2 separate regions of the Homo sapiens genome follow, and region 1 is linked to region 2. Evidence: promoter capture Hi-C in 16 types of primary human blood cells and fetal thymus (Javierre and others, 2016). All regions are on one chromosome and are shown on one strand. The core of a region is centred on a gene start or on the middle of the fragment in contact, and the rest is flanking DNA. Distances in the headings are between cores, read along the strand shown. Region 1 has its middle 40 kb from the start of KRABD4. Region 2 holds the start of NDP-AS1 (NDP antisense RNA 1).

What was found. The method cuts DNA at HindIII sites, captures the fragments that hold promoters and counts their contacts. A CHiCAGO score of 5 or more calls a contact.
Region 1: a contact is called between a fragment that was not itself captured here and the fragment with the promoter of NDP-AS1 in region 2, in 4 of 17 cell types (total B cells, total CD8 T cells, fetal thymus and 1 more). The highest score is 9.0, in total B cells.

The regions. Positions count from the first base shown.
Region 1 is chrX:46,403,595-46,410,597 of GRCh38, reverse strand. No RefSeq gene overlaps it. Among named protein-coding and RNA genes, the nearest start is that of KRABD4, 40 kb to the left of the region's middle. The HindIII fragment of the contact is 3,732 bases long and covers 1,627-5,358 here.
Region 2 is chrX:43,948,230-43,954,672 of GRCh38, reverse strand. It overlaps NDP-AS1 (NDP antisense RNA 1), which reads right to left and starts at 4,941. Exons shown (of 6, transcript NR_046631.1): 1 at 4,593-4,941; 2 at 1,271-1,354; 3 at 125-157. NDP (norrin cystine knot growth factor NDP) reads left to right here. Exons shown (of 3, transcript NM_000266.4): 3 at 4,647-5,897. The coding sequence ends at 4,874. RefSeq lists enhancers at 4,230-4,746, 4,747-5,264. The HindIII fragment of the contact is 3,781 bases long and covers 4,426-6,443 here.

The DNA.
Region 1 (7,003 bases), core at 2,243-4,742, 2.5 Mb before region 2:
ATCTCACACCAGTTAGAATGGCGATCATTAAAAAGTCAGGAAACAACAGGTGCTGGAAAGGATGTGGAGAAATAGGAACATTTTTACACTGTTGGTGGGACTGTAAACTAGTTCAACCATTGTGGAAGTCAGTGTGGCGATTCCTCAGGGATCTAGAACTAGATATACCATTTGACCCAGCCATCCCATTACTGGGTATATACCCAAAGGATTATAAATCATGCTGCTATAAAGACATATGCACACATACGTTTATTGCGGCACTATTCACAATAGCAAAGACTTGGAACCAACCCAAATGTCCAACAATGACAGACTGGATTAAGAAAATGTGGCACATATACACCATGGAATACTATGCAGCCATAAAAAATGATGAGTTCATGTCCTTTGTAGGGACATGGGTGAAGCTGGAAACCATCATTCTCAGCAAACTATCACAAGGACAAAAAACCAAACACCACATGTTCTCACTCATAGGTGGGAATTGAACAATGAGAACACATGGACACAGGAAGGGGAACATCACACACTGGGGCTTGTTGTGGGGTGGGGGGAGGGGGGAGGGAGATAGCATTGGGAGATATACCTAATGCTAAATGACGAGTTAATGGGTGCAGCACACCAACATGGCACATGTATACATATGTTACAAACCTGCACATTGTGCACATGTATCCTAAAACTTAAAGTATAATAATAATTTTAAAAATATATATATATTATATATATATATATAATGTAAGAGAAGGCAAAATTAGAAAGACTACATGCGATTCTTGCTTCTGAATAGTTTATGTGCAAATATGTAAATAATAAAGGCTTCCTGGTCATTCTCTCTCTTTCTCTCTTTCTATTTGTGTCCCTGTTTTTTTTTTTTTTCCTCCAAGTGGAAGATGCTGAAATCATTGGCTTGACAAAGTTTTCTGAGTGGAGTCTGGGAACTCCTTGCAGAAAACATTAATTTCTGGGTAGAAATTTCTTATAGTAGAAGGAATTTGTGGTGTGAAGAGAATAAAGTAAATGTTCCAGAAAAGGCAAATAAATATGGGGGAAGAATTTGATTGAGTAGTTGTTAGCCTATGTGTAGAGAAGAACAAATGTATTTGCTTGGCTAAGATTATTACATGACAGATTTTTAAGGAGTGTGTGTAGGGTGGAGAGGATAGTTGAAAAAGACCTGAAAATTACCAATTTGAAATTTGGTTGAAATTCTTCACAATTGTCACAGCGCATGGATAAGACTTTAGTTGAAATAGCTTCCAGAATTGGTTTACTGAATTCCTGGAAATGAACTGTTTTAAGAGTTTGTACATTTCAGAAATTCATGGAGTTCAGAATGCCAAGACAAAGGCCTTCAATTTAACAAGGAGAAACCAGAGTTTACCACTGGGATCTCCTAGGCCGTTCCGGAGAAATTTTTTAATTTTTCAGTTTTTATCATAGAATTTCCCTGGAGACATGGAAAAGGAGAAAACTCTTACACAAGACTGTAGTCTTTTCCACCAAAAGTCTTAATTTTACACTTCTACGTGGTTGGTGTATGAAATGCACTTTCATGTGACTGCTGAAAGCAAAAGATGACTGTGGCCACATGGGGGCAGCAGACACCTGCTTTTCCAAGCTTGAGCTCCAGAAATTTGTGCTAAAAGATTTTCCACGTTTATTCTTTAGTCTAAATGTCTCTTCCATATTGCCGAACTGGGGGAAATGAATATCTTTAAAATACTAACAAAGAAATCTCACGTGCTAATCAGAAGTTGGCAAGGGCTTGCTCTTTTTGTGTTTCTAATGGCTAGTTTCTCACAGGTCATTTCTTAGCTATCAGGATATCCTCTGACAATCATAGGGCCTGGCATCTAATGATAGCTTAGTAAACGTTGGTTATCCTTAGTGTTTTTTGGAAGATAACTGCTCCAACTTACCAAAACACATTCTCTAAGATCTCAGACCACGGTATCCAGGGAAGGCTGTATCTCTTTAGCTAAGAGTGTTCACATTGTCTAGCAGTCCTACACATTTTCTGCAGTTCTACAGTCATGAATTTAGAGACAAGCACCTTGTCAAATCAGTGATTCTGAGAAAAGCATATCCGACACAGTCACTTTCTCTTTACCTGTGTGGTGCTGCAGCAGAAACTGCAAATGGAATTTTGAGGATGGAAGGTGAGCACAGGTGTGGCAAGATTGCGATCCTGGGTATACCACTCCATCCCTCCTCCCTCTTCCCCTAACAGCCTAATCAGCCCTAATCAGGGCCTCATGGATGAGGTGAGGCACTTAGGCTGGCACCACCAGCTGCCTGGCTCTTTAGGCCTCTCACTGATGCCCCCTGCCTATTCATTTCAACATTTGTTGAATGCCCACTCTTTCTTAAGCAATCCTCATACATCATCTCATTTACCATTTCTCTATGTAGGAAAGCTATTTCATGCCTATGTTTGCAGATGCTCGTCCTTCTGCCTGGAATACCCTTTCCTTCTTCTCAGTCTAATTCCTATATGTCTTTCCAATCCAGCTCATGACATGCTCTTCTAGAAACCCCACAACAGTTTAGATATAGCCAAAATGGGCTCTTGTAAGCACATGGTCTTATCCTCAGCACATTGTTAGGATCACAGGCTTGGTCATCTTCCTCTCCCATGAAACCACAAGCTCCCTGTGCTCAGAGCCCTGCCTCATTCGGCCTTGAATCCGTAGAGGCCAGCAGAGTTTCTGGCACATTGGAGCTGCTCCAGAAAAGTTTGTGGAGTGAGCAAATGAATCAATTCATTTATCCCTGAATGAGATGTTTCCTTTCCCTTCCTTTCCCCAGTTAAAATGCTTTGATTTTTTTTTAATCTCTCTTAAGAAATTATTTTAAAAATAAGCAGTCAGCTTCTACCTCCTACACAAGGAACATCAGAGAATACCAATGAACCATCATTTACAAGTGGGACTTGCTGAAGAAGGAAGTGTGTAGTATGAACCTCTGTGGATATCCCAGGCACTGTGGGGTCCCATGGGGATATGCACCAAGCTCCATGCGTGCGGCTCTGAAAGATGCCTTCACATCAGCAGCAGCTGTTAGTGGCATTAAGATGTGAATGGCTTCCAGAAGCCTCTCAGTGTTCTAAGGATACTATTCGTCAATTCTCACAGAATCCTTCAATGATAAGCAAGAGAAATGGAGAAAGTTTTTCCTGCCTTCTTCTCTCCGCTGTCTCTCTTTCTCCTTACAGTTGGAGAGTTAGAATTCAGAGAAAGATTAAGCAAATCGCCTAGCATCACTTAAAAGAGAACAGTCAAGCCAGAACTCAGTCTGGTGCTCATTCCACAAAGCTGTGCTTCCTGTAACTTAAACAGGTCTGTGTTTTAATGAATTTGTGGCATATGGGCCATAATAATCAAAGCGCCTGGCATTTCCTGGAATTTATGATCTTGTGGGGAATAGGTCATTTTCTACTTTTGAATGAATTTTCACATGCTTAGCTTTGGAGTTGAGAAACCTGACAGAAGTGAACATGGTTTCTGGAATAAGTAATGCTTTTTTTTGTTTGTTTGTTTGTCCTGCTATCTGTACCCATATCTTCTTTTTGTCCTCTCAAACCTCATCCCTACCCATGAACTATTGTCCCAACTTCTCTAGCATTTTAAGAGTCAGTGGCAAGATAGTGTTCTTTTTTTTTTTTGACGGAGTCTCGCTCTGTCACCAGACTGGAGTACAATGGTGCGATCTTGGCTCACTGCAACCTCTGCCTCCCGGGTTCAAGCGATTCTCTTGCCTCAGCCTCCTGAGTAGCTGGGACTACAGGCGCACGCCACTATGCCCAGCTAATTTTTGTATTTTTTAAGTAGAGATGTGGTTTCACCATGTTGGCCGAGATGGTCTCGATCTCCTGACCTCGTGATCCACCCATCTCGGCCTCCCAAAGTGCTGAGATTACAGGCATGAGCCACCACCCAGCCAAGAGTCAGTAGCAAGATAGTGCTCTCAAAGTCTGTGTTGTGGGAGAAGAAAATTATTTTGATTGCTGTCTTCTCTGTGAAATTCCAGTGAAGTTCATAGCCCTTCATCGTCCACCATCCCTGGTGACCTGCAGTTGTTGGAAAAACAGTTGTCTTTATAGGCAAAGAACTCTCCTCCTGACCTGGATTTGTGTTTCTGATTTCTAAAAAACCTTGTTGATCCAGGTAGCAGTGAAAGTCTGTGAATTCAGATATGGCCTGACCAATGCACTCTTTTTTTTTTTTTTTTTTTTTTTTTTGAGACAGGCTGGAGTGCAGTGGCGCGATCTCCGCTAACTGCAACCTCCACCTCCCGGGTTCAAATGATTCTCCTGCCTCAGCCTCCCGAGTAGCTGGGATTACAGGTGCGCACACCAAGCCCAGCTAATTTTTGTATTTTTAGTAGAGATGGGGTTTCACCATGTTGGCCAGGATGGTCTCAAACTCCTGACCTCAAGTGATCCACCCGCCTTGGCCTCTCACAGTGCTGGGATTACTGGTGTGAGCCACAGGGCCTGGCCCAATGTGCTCTGTTTTTGACAGAGTCTTCCAGAATTGCCTTGAGTGTGACAGCAGTAGCTGGTTTCCCAAAGATCTACTTGGTCCCACTTGCTGAGAAAGCTGCCATTGAGTATTTGTTGTGGGCATTTAAATCTCAGTAAAGGTATACCAATTAATGCCAATGAGCTTAAGTAAATATCTATGCCACTGATATTGATGTTTGTGTTTTGTTTCTAAAATGAATTGAAGTTCCCCCAAAGCCTGACCTCTTCTCCAGCAAATCCTTGGTTGCAGTGGATGGCAGTAATTTTTTAAGGGCATTACATTAAGTTTCCAGGAGTGCCTTTTAAAGGAGCTTTTTCCATGCCTTTTTTTTTTCTAATATCTTATATGCTCAGTTCTTACTGGCTTACAAGAACTCTTTAAAAAATGGAGTCCCTGAATATTTCTGTGAAATGCATTCTTTTCTGAGACAGACTGTCATGGGAGCTATTTAGAGCCTACATCACTTAGTTTGAGAGCTGAATGATGCACTTTTCCAAGCATATTCTTAACTCAAACAACAAAAGACTTCAAGTTTGCCGAGTATTTCCAGACCCAGGCAATGTCAGGGAACCATAGATTGTCAGGGTCTTCTATTGCCCTGGCAGCTCTCTAGAAGCAACACTAGAATTTCTAGAAGGGGACCGTAGCATGCTAAAGCCATTGGCATGACCCTGGGTTCACTGGCATCCAGGAAGCTCCTTTTCTCTGTGTTGGAGTTACCCCTGTAATACACCCAGGTTAACATATTTGGAATTCCTAACCCTATATAATGAGGAAACCTCTAAGTTTCAAAGATCCCAGTTCAAATCTAAACACTTAGAAAGCTTGGAAATAAGTTTCTTGGGTTTGGAATTCATTAAAGAAGTGCAAGACTCAGGGTCCATAGGGGGCACACAAAAAGACTCAGTGTCTCTGTCACTGAGACAGAGGCTGGGGGAGAAAAGAGACACACTTTCCCAGAAATTCAATTGGGGCAGGTACAGAGTATCTATGCTGGATCTCATGAGTGCTTGGTGGGACAAGACTGTTCCCATGGTAATTCCCCGAGGTTAACCAGCTGTGACAGGGAAAGCGATAGCCGCACGATTCATGAATGTGTGTAACCGAACTGTCCCTGGCTAGGTTCATGGGTCAAATAGGAGACCAGTGTCTGAGGTCAGGTTTCAGGCTGCTGCATGTGCTGGCCCCTAAGCAGAAGGAAAGGGAATCAGTAAGTGTCACCTTGAATGATACCCCCCTATGCTTGATTCGACACCAGTTAGGAAGGGAATTGGTAGGGGCACATGATGAAAAACTGTTCGGTTTCTTTCCCTTTCTCTCTGCTGTCACATGAGACTAGACCAGGAGAAAACAGAAAGCTCATAATTTTATTTGGCCTTCATTGAGTGTAGGCTGGTATCATTTCATTTATTTGGAACTTATAGGGGTTCTCAGGTTCATAACCTATTTACTGGGTTTATAAATTGATTATTTTAAAATTTGAATGATGGATGGGAACATTCCACGGTTTATTGTGGGAGGGAGAATATAGCCAGAGAAACAATGACCTATGGTGTAAGGCCATAGGTATATCAAAATCAGAATCTGTACCAATTCAAATAACTTCCTCTTGAATCTCAGATTACCTTGGGAAAGTGTATGATTTTTTTGCACTAGCATTTCAAAACATTTAAGCTTCCGTAATGACGGCTTGATTTAATTCCAAATGCATTACCTCCTACAGATACAACATGAGAGCAGAAATTGACTTTGTAAATAGCGTGGATCAAATGAGGCCCACTGACTTGCACAATCCAATAAGTGGCAAAACCAAGACTAGAATATCAGAATGTACAGCTTTGTCTTTTGAGCAAGATTGCCTTTGTTTTTACCAAACAAATTTTGATGCCATACGTTTGTTGAATGAATTCTACTTTAGATTCATTCAGTACAATATTTTGCTCCTTTTCTTACAAAAAGTAGTACAACAAAGAAGTGTTGAAATTCCATTTGCCACTCTGTTATTAAGTGATACATGTTATGTCACATGAAGCACATACAAAATTAAATAAGTCACTTTTGTGTGCTTTTACAGTGTTAGGTTTAGAAATCTTATCTTAGTGGAATAGACTTGTTTAAAAATGTTCTTGAAATTTCATTGTGTAAACCTAGTTTTATTATAAGAAACTACCATTCAAGCCAGTAGTCAAAAAACTTGCTTTCCTATACCTATAAGCACAGGCTTAGAATAAACTGAAACCAGATTGAGGCGGGCTTATCAACTGGATTTCAAGAGGCATTGCTGGTGAAATTTTAATGTTTTTATTTTAACAAACAGTTAAGTTAGTGAATTCCTTACTCTTAAACAGATTCTGTTAAGAAGGACATATTACTTGAGATTGTTTAATCCAGCAAAAGTTTTACCCTATATTTTTAACTAGTCCCACAGTTGATGGGGAAAGGTCCTGGTTTATAATATGAGGTGAGGTGAT
Region 2 (6,443 bases), core at 3,692-6,191:
CCAAGCTCATGGTGTGATAGGAGAAATGGAGGGAGTCAGGAAAATTGTGTTTATAATACAATAGACTTCTTGAGAGATATAATTTGATTTTTTTAAAAGGAACAAATTTATACTGAGTGCCTACCATGTCCAGGTGCTGTGGAAGGTGCTGGAGACTCTAAAGTGGAAAGAAAGAAAAAAGAGACAATTTTTTTGCCTTCATGATGCTTACAAGAAAATGGGGAGAGAGGGAGGAGGGGTGTTCTGTGCACAAAGATCAGTTTGTATCTGTTTGATTCATGACCGGAGTGAAGGGACCAGTTTCTAGTTGGAGTGAGCTGAGTTCCCATCCACCCTTTCAAAGCCCCCACCATCTCTCTGCTGCTTTGTTCCCTGGTTGCAATTTTCTTGGTGCCCTCAGCCTAGCACAGATCTTTTGGAGGTTGACCTGGGTCCCTGAAGATGAGCGGAGTTATGAGGCTGCCCGTGGGGAAAGAATGGGAGAAGAAGCATGGGTGAATCTTGTTCCTGAGGTTATAGAGGGTGTTTCAAGAGGTGCCATGGAAATAAGGGTGCATAGTGTTCACTGCTGCGAAAAAGGCAAAATACTTTTCCACTCTGTCGGAGTAAAATCGCAAAAATGCTCTTCTAGGGTGGGACAGGTGGGTCTTTATTCTGATGCTAATGGTGACATCTGGTCAGTCAAGGCTCTTGGAAGATTCAGCTCTGCATAAGCTTGGGGATGGTGAAGCTAATGTCCCAAGAAGCCCACAAGAAAAAGTTAGACTTGTATGTCTATGGATATGGTCAGGGGTTTCTGAGGCAAATCAATGTAGATAAGGAAGTCTGTGAGTTGGCATATGCTTGAGGAAAACATGGTATCAGGAGGCAGGTATTATACTGGTTTAGGTCAGGGCTTTGGTTTCAGATAGACCTTGGTTTGATTCCAGCTCTGCATTTTACCACCTATGTGAGTTTGGGCAAGTTACTGGAACTCTCTAAAGCTTGAGTTTCCTTATCTGTCCTAATAGTGTAGATCATAACAGTACTTTCTTGTAGGGTTGTTGTAAGGATGAAATAACTCACATTGCAAGTGCTCAATAAATGTTCTTATTAGCGAAATGATGGTTATCTAGTGATTCATCTAGAGCACAGCCCTCAAACTTGAATGGGTCCAGAGACCTGCTACTCAAAGTGTGGGCACCAGCCCAGTAGGACTGACATCAACTGGAATCTGATGGGAAATGCAGAATCTCAGGCTCTAGGCCAGAACTACTCAATCAGAACTTGCCTTTTAACAAGATCCTAGATGATTCACACGCACATTCCAGTCTGAGAAGCTCTGATCCGGAAGAGATCAGGAGATGTTCAAGTGCTGAAACACAAGTAAGGCATGGCAGAAGCTAAAATGTGAAGTATTGAGAGTAAACCAGGAGAGCAGATGGTTATTCCTTCCATCCCTTAAGGATCTTATCTTTCAAACTTCTGCTTTACCACTTCAACACACAAAACAGAGATAGATTTCCTTCTAGGAGTGTGTGTGTGTGTGTGTGTGTGTGTGTGTGTTGAGAACATCAATGGTTCAATAATTGCTTCATAGTCTTTTCTTCCAGGAAAGAGCATTTGAATTTGGCTACAGAGAATAGATAGGTGGGATTTTATTAGGCAGAGCAAGGTGGAAAGGACATATTTGGGAGACAGAAGACATAAGCAAAGGCAAGAGGCAGGAGAATTCAGGGCACTTTCTTGGACTCCTAAGTAGTTAAGTTTGACTGGAGTAGGGAGTGGGTAGTAGAGTGATGAGAATAGTTGTAAGTAAGACTGGAAATACATGTGAAACCTGGGTCATGAAGGGCCTTGACTCCTCTTCAAGATTTTGGATTTTATTCTGAACTACTGAAGGCATTTATTGTACATGTCTGTGCATTCTTCTTGCACAAACAGTCCAGCTCCCAAGGAAGAGGGGCCCAGCCCATTGGAGGTGGCCCCACGTCCTTCAGTGCCTGGAGTTCTTGTCCTTCAGAGTGGGCTGGGGGTGGAGCTGGACATCCTGAAAACTTTTAGTGAGATTGCAATCAGATGAGCTCATTTACAAATGGCCCTACGCTGTTGACTTGGTCATTTTATGGACAGTGCTAATGGCCCAGTCAGTTAGGCCTACGTTTGGTTCACCTGTGTATACATCACTTGGATATTATGTCCCATATCATTGTTGGCCCTTCTGAGTTAAGTTCGTTGGCACAGATTTACTTTGTCCACCCAGACTGAAACTGCACCTCTGAAGACTCCATCACGGAAGGTGACTCTGTGAATAACTGCTTAGTCAACCTAATAGATGATCTAGATGAGAGATTAGCAAATTTAACACTACTCCAAGGTGAGGTATCAAGCAGCTCTTCCCACATACAGGGAGATGGGGGGAGAACAGACTAAGGAAGATCTTGGACTCTCTCTCTCATTAGAGAAATGGGGGTGGGAATTAGGGACTAGCCTGTGTACTACTGACCTATGGCATAGTCTCTCAAAACCCATTTCAGAGCCAGGCACAGTGGTACATGCCTGTAGTCCTGGCTACACAGGAGGCTGAGGCAGGAGGATCCCTTGAGCTCAGGAGTTTAAGGCTGTAGTGTGCTATGATCATGCCTGTGAATAACCACTGCACTGCAGCCTGGACAACATAGCAAGACTCTGTCTCTAAAAACAAAACAAAACAAACAAACAATCATTTCTGATAGTTTACTTTGCCTGTCAAAATGAAGAGCAGGTAGGATAGAATCAAAAGCTTTAAAAAAATCAAAACAGCTTACAGCTGCTATTTTCTCTCTGCCTCTGCGATCATTCAGAGAAAATAAATTCACTGGTCTAGTCCAACTTATTCTTCCCTAAGCCCTGCTGTTTTTTTTTTCTAGTATTTCATATTGCCTTGGTGGTTGCTAAGTGATTGTTGGATTTAGCCCCAGTATATTCTCAGATAACTATGCCAATAATCTATAATTACCAGAATTCATCTTTTCTCCCTTTTGGAAAGATGGACTGGCTATTTTTTTCTTGTAAACCTTGGGTGTTTAATTCTGCCCTACAGGATGATGTCAGAGATAATAGCTGGTGAGTCTTTAATAATAACTGCGAATTCCTACAATATTGTAAGGTAAACGTCAAAAGGTTTCATGCATATATATGTATCTTTTAATCTTTCATTTGAACAGTTTCACTTTTTATGATCTTGCTGTTGGTTCTGGAATTATAGGACAAATTTTTCTTTTCTTTTCTTTTCTTTTTGAGACAGGGCCTTGCTCTGTCACTCATGCTGGAGTACAGTGGCTTGATCATAGCTTCCTGCAGCCTCTAATTCCTGGGTTCAAGTGATCCTCCTGCCTCAGCTGCCAAAGTAGCTGGGACTACAGGTGCACATCACCACGCCTGGTTAACTTTTTATTTTTTTTTTTAGAGACACGGTCATGCTATGTTGCCCAGGCTGGTCTCAAACTCCTGGGGTCAAGTGATCCTCCTGCCTCAGACTCCAAAGTGTTGGGATTATAGGCATGAGACAATACACCTGGCCCAGGGGATTTTTTTCTCCATCACTTAACATGAAATTCACCAAGCAAAACCTCTTACATAACCATGGGACCAATAATCTCAGATTCTCCATTCCCCTCCCCACCTTGATATTAGGATTATGCAGCTTAATGAGTCAAGCTGTCCCACCCTACCCACCTATTACTCCCACTCCCAGGATACCAGGAGTTTTGTATGGGATACATAAATGATCCTTTTTTCCATTCCGTTAAGCTGTATGCAAATTGTGTGTGTGCTTATGTACATTTTTCTGGGGATAACTTTGGTAGTTTTCATCAGATTCTTAAAGGTGTCTGTTTGCTAAAGCCAGATTAAGAGCTACTATAAAGAACACATAGCCTCCGTTATTCCAGCCCAATCTTTGGAAATAGAGATTATCAGAATGGGTACATCCTAATATTTGCCGCAAATGACTCTGAAGATGCGGATGCAATTACATAAATCCCAGGCTCCTTCAACATATAAACCCAGAAGTGTGATTTCAGGGCCCCAGACATGCCCTGTCTCTACTTCATTCTCTTGTCCCAAATTGCAGCACCCAGAATATTTCTTCCTAAGCATTACTCAGGCTATCCTATTTTCTTATTCAGAAACTATATTCCTGTTCTTTAGCTATTTCCTGCACAAATCAATTTCTTTTTTTTTTTTTTTTTTTTGGTAGTCATTTTAATTTACTTCTTGGTTTCAATTTGGATTGACTTTCTGCATTTTGCTACTGGTAGAATTGCAATGCATTGGGCCAGTGGTAGACCACTACCTGTCAGGAGAAATTTCTTTTGTTCTTTGGTTTTTACTCGCACATCACAGTGATGGGCGTCATTCAGTGGTTCTAAACCCTCAGTACACTTAGAAATCACCTAAGAAGCTTTGAAAACCATGAAAGCCTGGTCCCTATCTCCAAGGATTTTAATTCAATCGATCTGAATGAGGCCTGGGTGTTGACTTAAAAAAAATGCAACATGCATTGAGCCACTGGTCTAATCTAGCAGGAATTGGCAACGAGTGTGAGGGTCTTTCAAAAGATGCTGTTTTACCTGGCTAAGGTTGTGGCATGCCCACAGAGTAACCACCTCCTTTTCTTTCCCCAGATGGTGCTCCTGGCCAGGTGCGAGGGGCACTGCAGCCAGGCGTCACGCTCCGAGCCTTTGGTGTCGTTCAGCACTGTCCTCAAGCAACCCTTCCGTTCCTCCTGTCACTGCTGCCGGCCCCAGACTTCCAAGCTGAAGGCACTGCGGCTGCGATGCTCAGGGGGCATGCGACTCACTGCCACCTACCGGTACATCCTCTCCTGTCACTGCGAGGAATGCAATTCCTGAGGCCCGCTGCTGTGTGTGGCTTCTGGATGGGACAACTGTAGAGGCAGTTCGACCAGCCAGGGAAAGACTGGCAAGAAAAGAGTTAAGGCAAAAAAGGATGCAACAATTCTCCCGGGACTCTGCATATTCTAGTAATAAAGACTCTACATGCTTGTTGACAGAGAGAGATACTCTGGGAACTTCTTTGCAGTTCCCATCTCCTTTCTCTGGTACAATTTCTTTTGGTTCATTTTCAGATTCAGGCATTTTCCCCCTTGGCTCTCAATGCTGTTTGGGTTTCCAACAATTCAGCATTAGTGGGAAAAAGTGGGCCCTCATACACAAGCGTGTCAGGCTGTCAGTGTTTGGTGCACGCTGGGGAAGAATTTACTTTGGAAAGTAGAAAAGCCCAGCTTTTCCTGGGACATCTTCTGTTATTGTTGATGTTTTTTTTTACCTTGTCATTTTGGTCTAAGGTTGCCATTGCTGCTAAAGGTTACCGATTTCAAAGTCCAGATACCAAGCATGTGGATATGTTTAGCTACGTTTACTCACAGCCAGCGAACTGACATTAAAATAACTAACAAACAGATTCTTTTATGTGATGCTGGAACTCTTGACAGCTATAATTATTATTCAGAAATGACTTTTTGAAAGTAAAAGCAGCATAAAGAATTTGTCACAGGAAGGCTGTCTCAGATAAATTATGGTAAAATTTTGTAAGGGAGCAGACTTTTAAAGACTTGCACAAATACGGATCCTGCACTGACTCTGGAAAAGGCATATATGTACTAGTGGCATGGAGAATGCACCATACTCATGCATGCAAATTAGACAACCAAGTATGAATCTATTTGTGGGTGTGCTATAGCTTTAGCCGTGTCACGGGCATCATTCTCTAATATCCACTTGTCCATGTGAAACATGTTGCCAAAATGGTGGCCTGGCTTGTCTTCTGAACGTTTGGTTCAAATGTGTTTTGGTCCTGGAGGCTCAAATTTTGAGTTATTCCCACGTTTTGAAATAAAAAGAGTATATTCAAAATTTTGACTGTTTAAGTATTTTTTTCCTACTTGATATCCTACTATCATGTGGACTAGAACATACATGTAGCTAGTGCTTGAGCATCTCCTATGATATAGTAAAAGAGTCAAAAAAAAAAAAAAGGAGACAGAAATGGGGTTCCAGAATGCATTGTGGGAACATTTTTTTGAAATCAATGTAACAAGGTGTTGAGGGCTTATTAAATTTGACTCTGAGTTTTAGATTTTAGCCCATTGAATAAACACAAAATCTAATGCATTTTGGCTTCCTTGGAAGCTATGGAATGAAACAGAGGAGTCCCCTCCTTTTTAATTTCTTCACTTTTCTCAGAAGAAAATAAATATCCATAAGTGAAGTTGGAAGAACCAGCAGAAGGACAAATAGTTAACAACATTTCTGTGCCATTGACTGTGCAGTGCTCAGGATCGAATGATATTACTGGGCATTACAAGAATACTCATGATGTTAGCACAGTGCTATGTCCCTCTTAGGTATCTCAATACAAATCCAGACTTGGCAATTCAGTTTCCAGGGCAACCTTGTCCT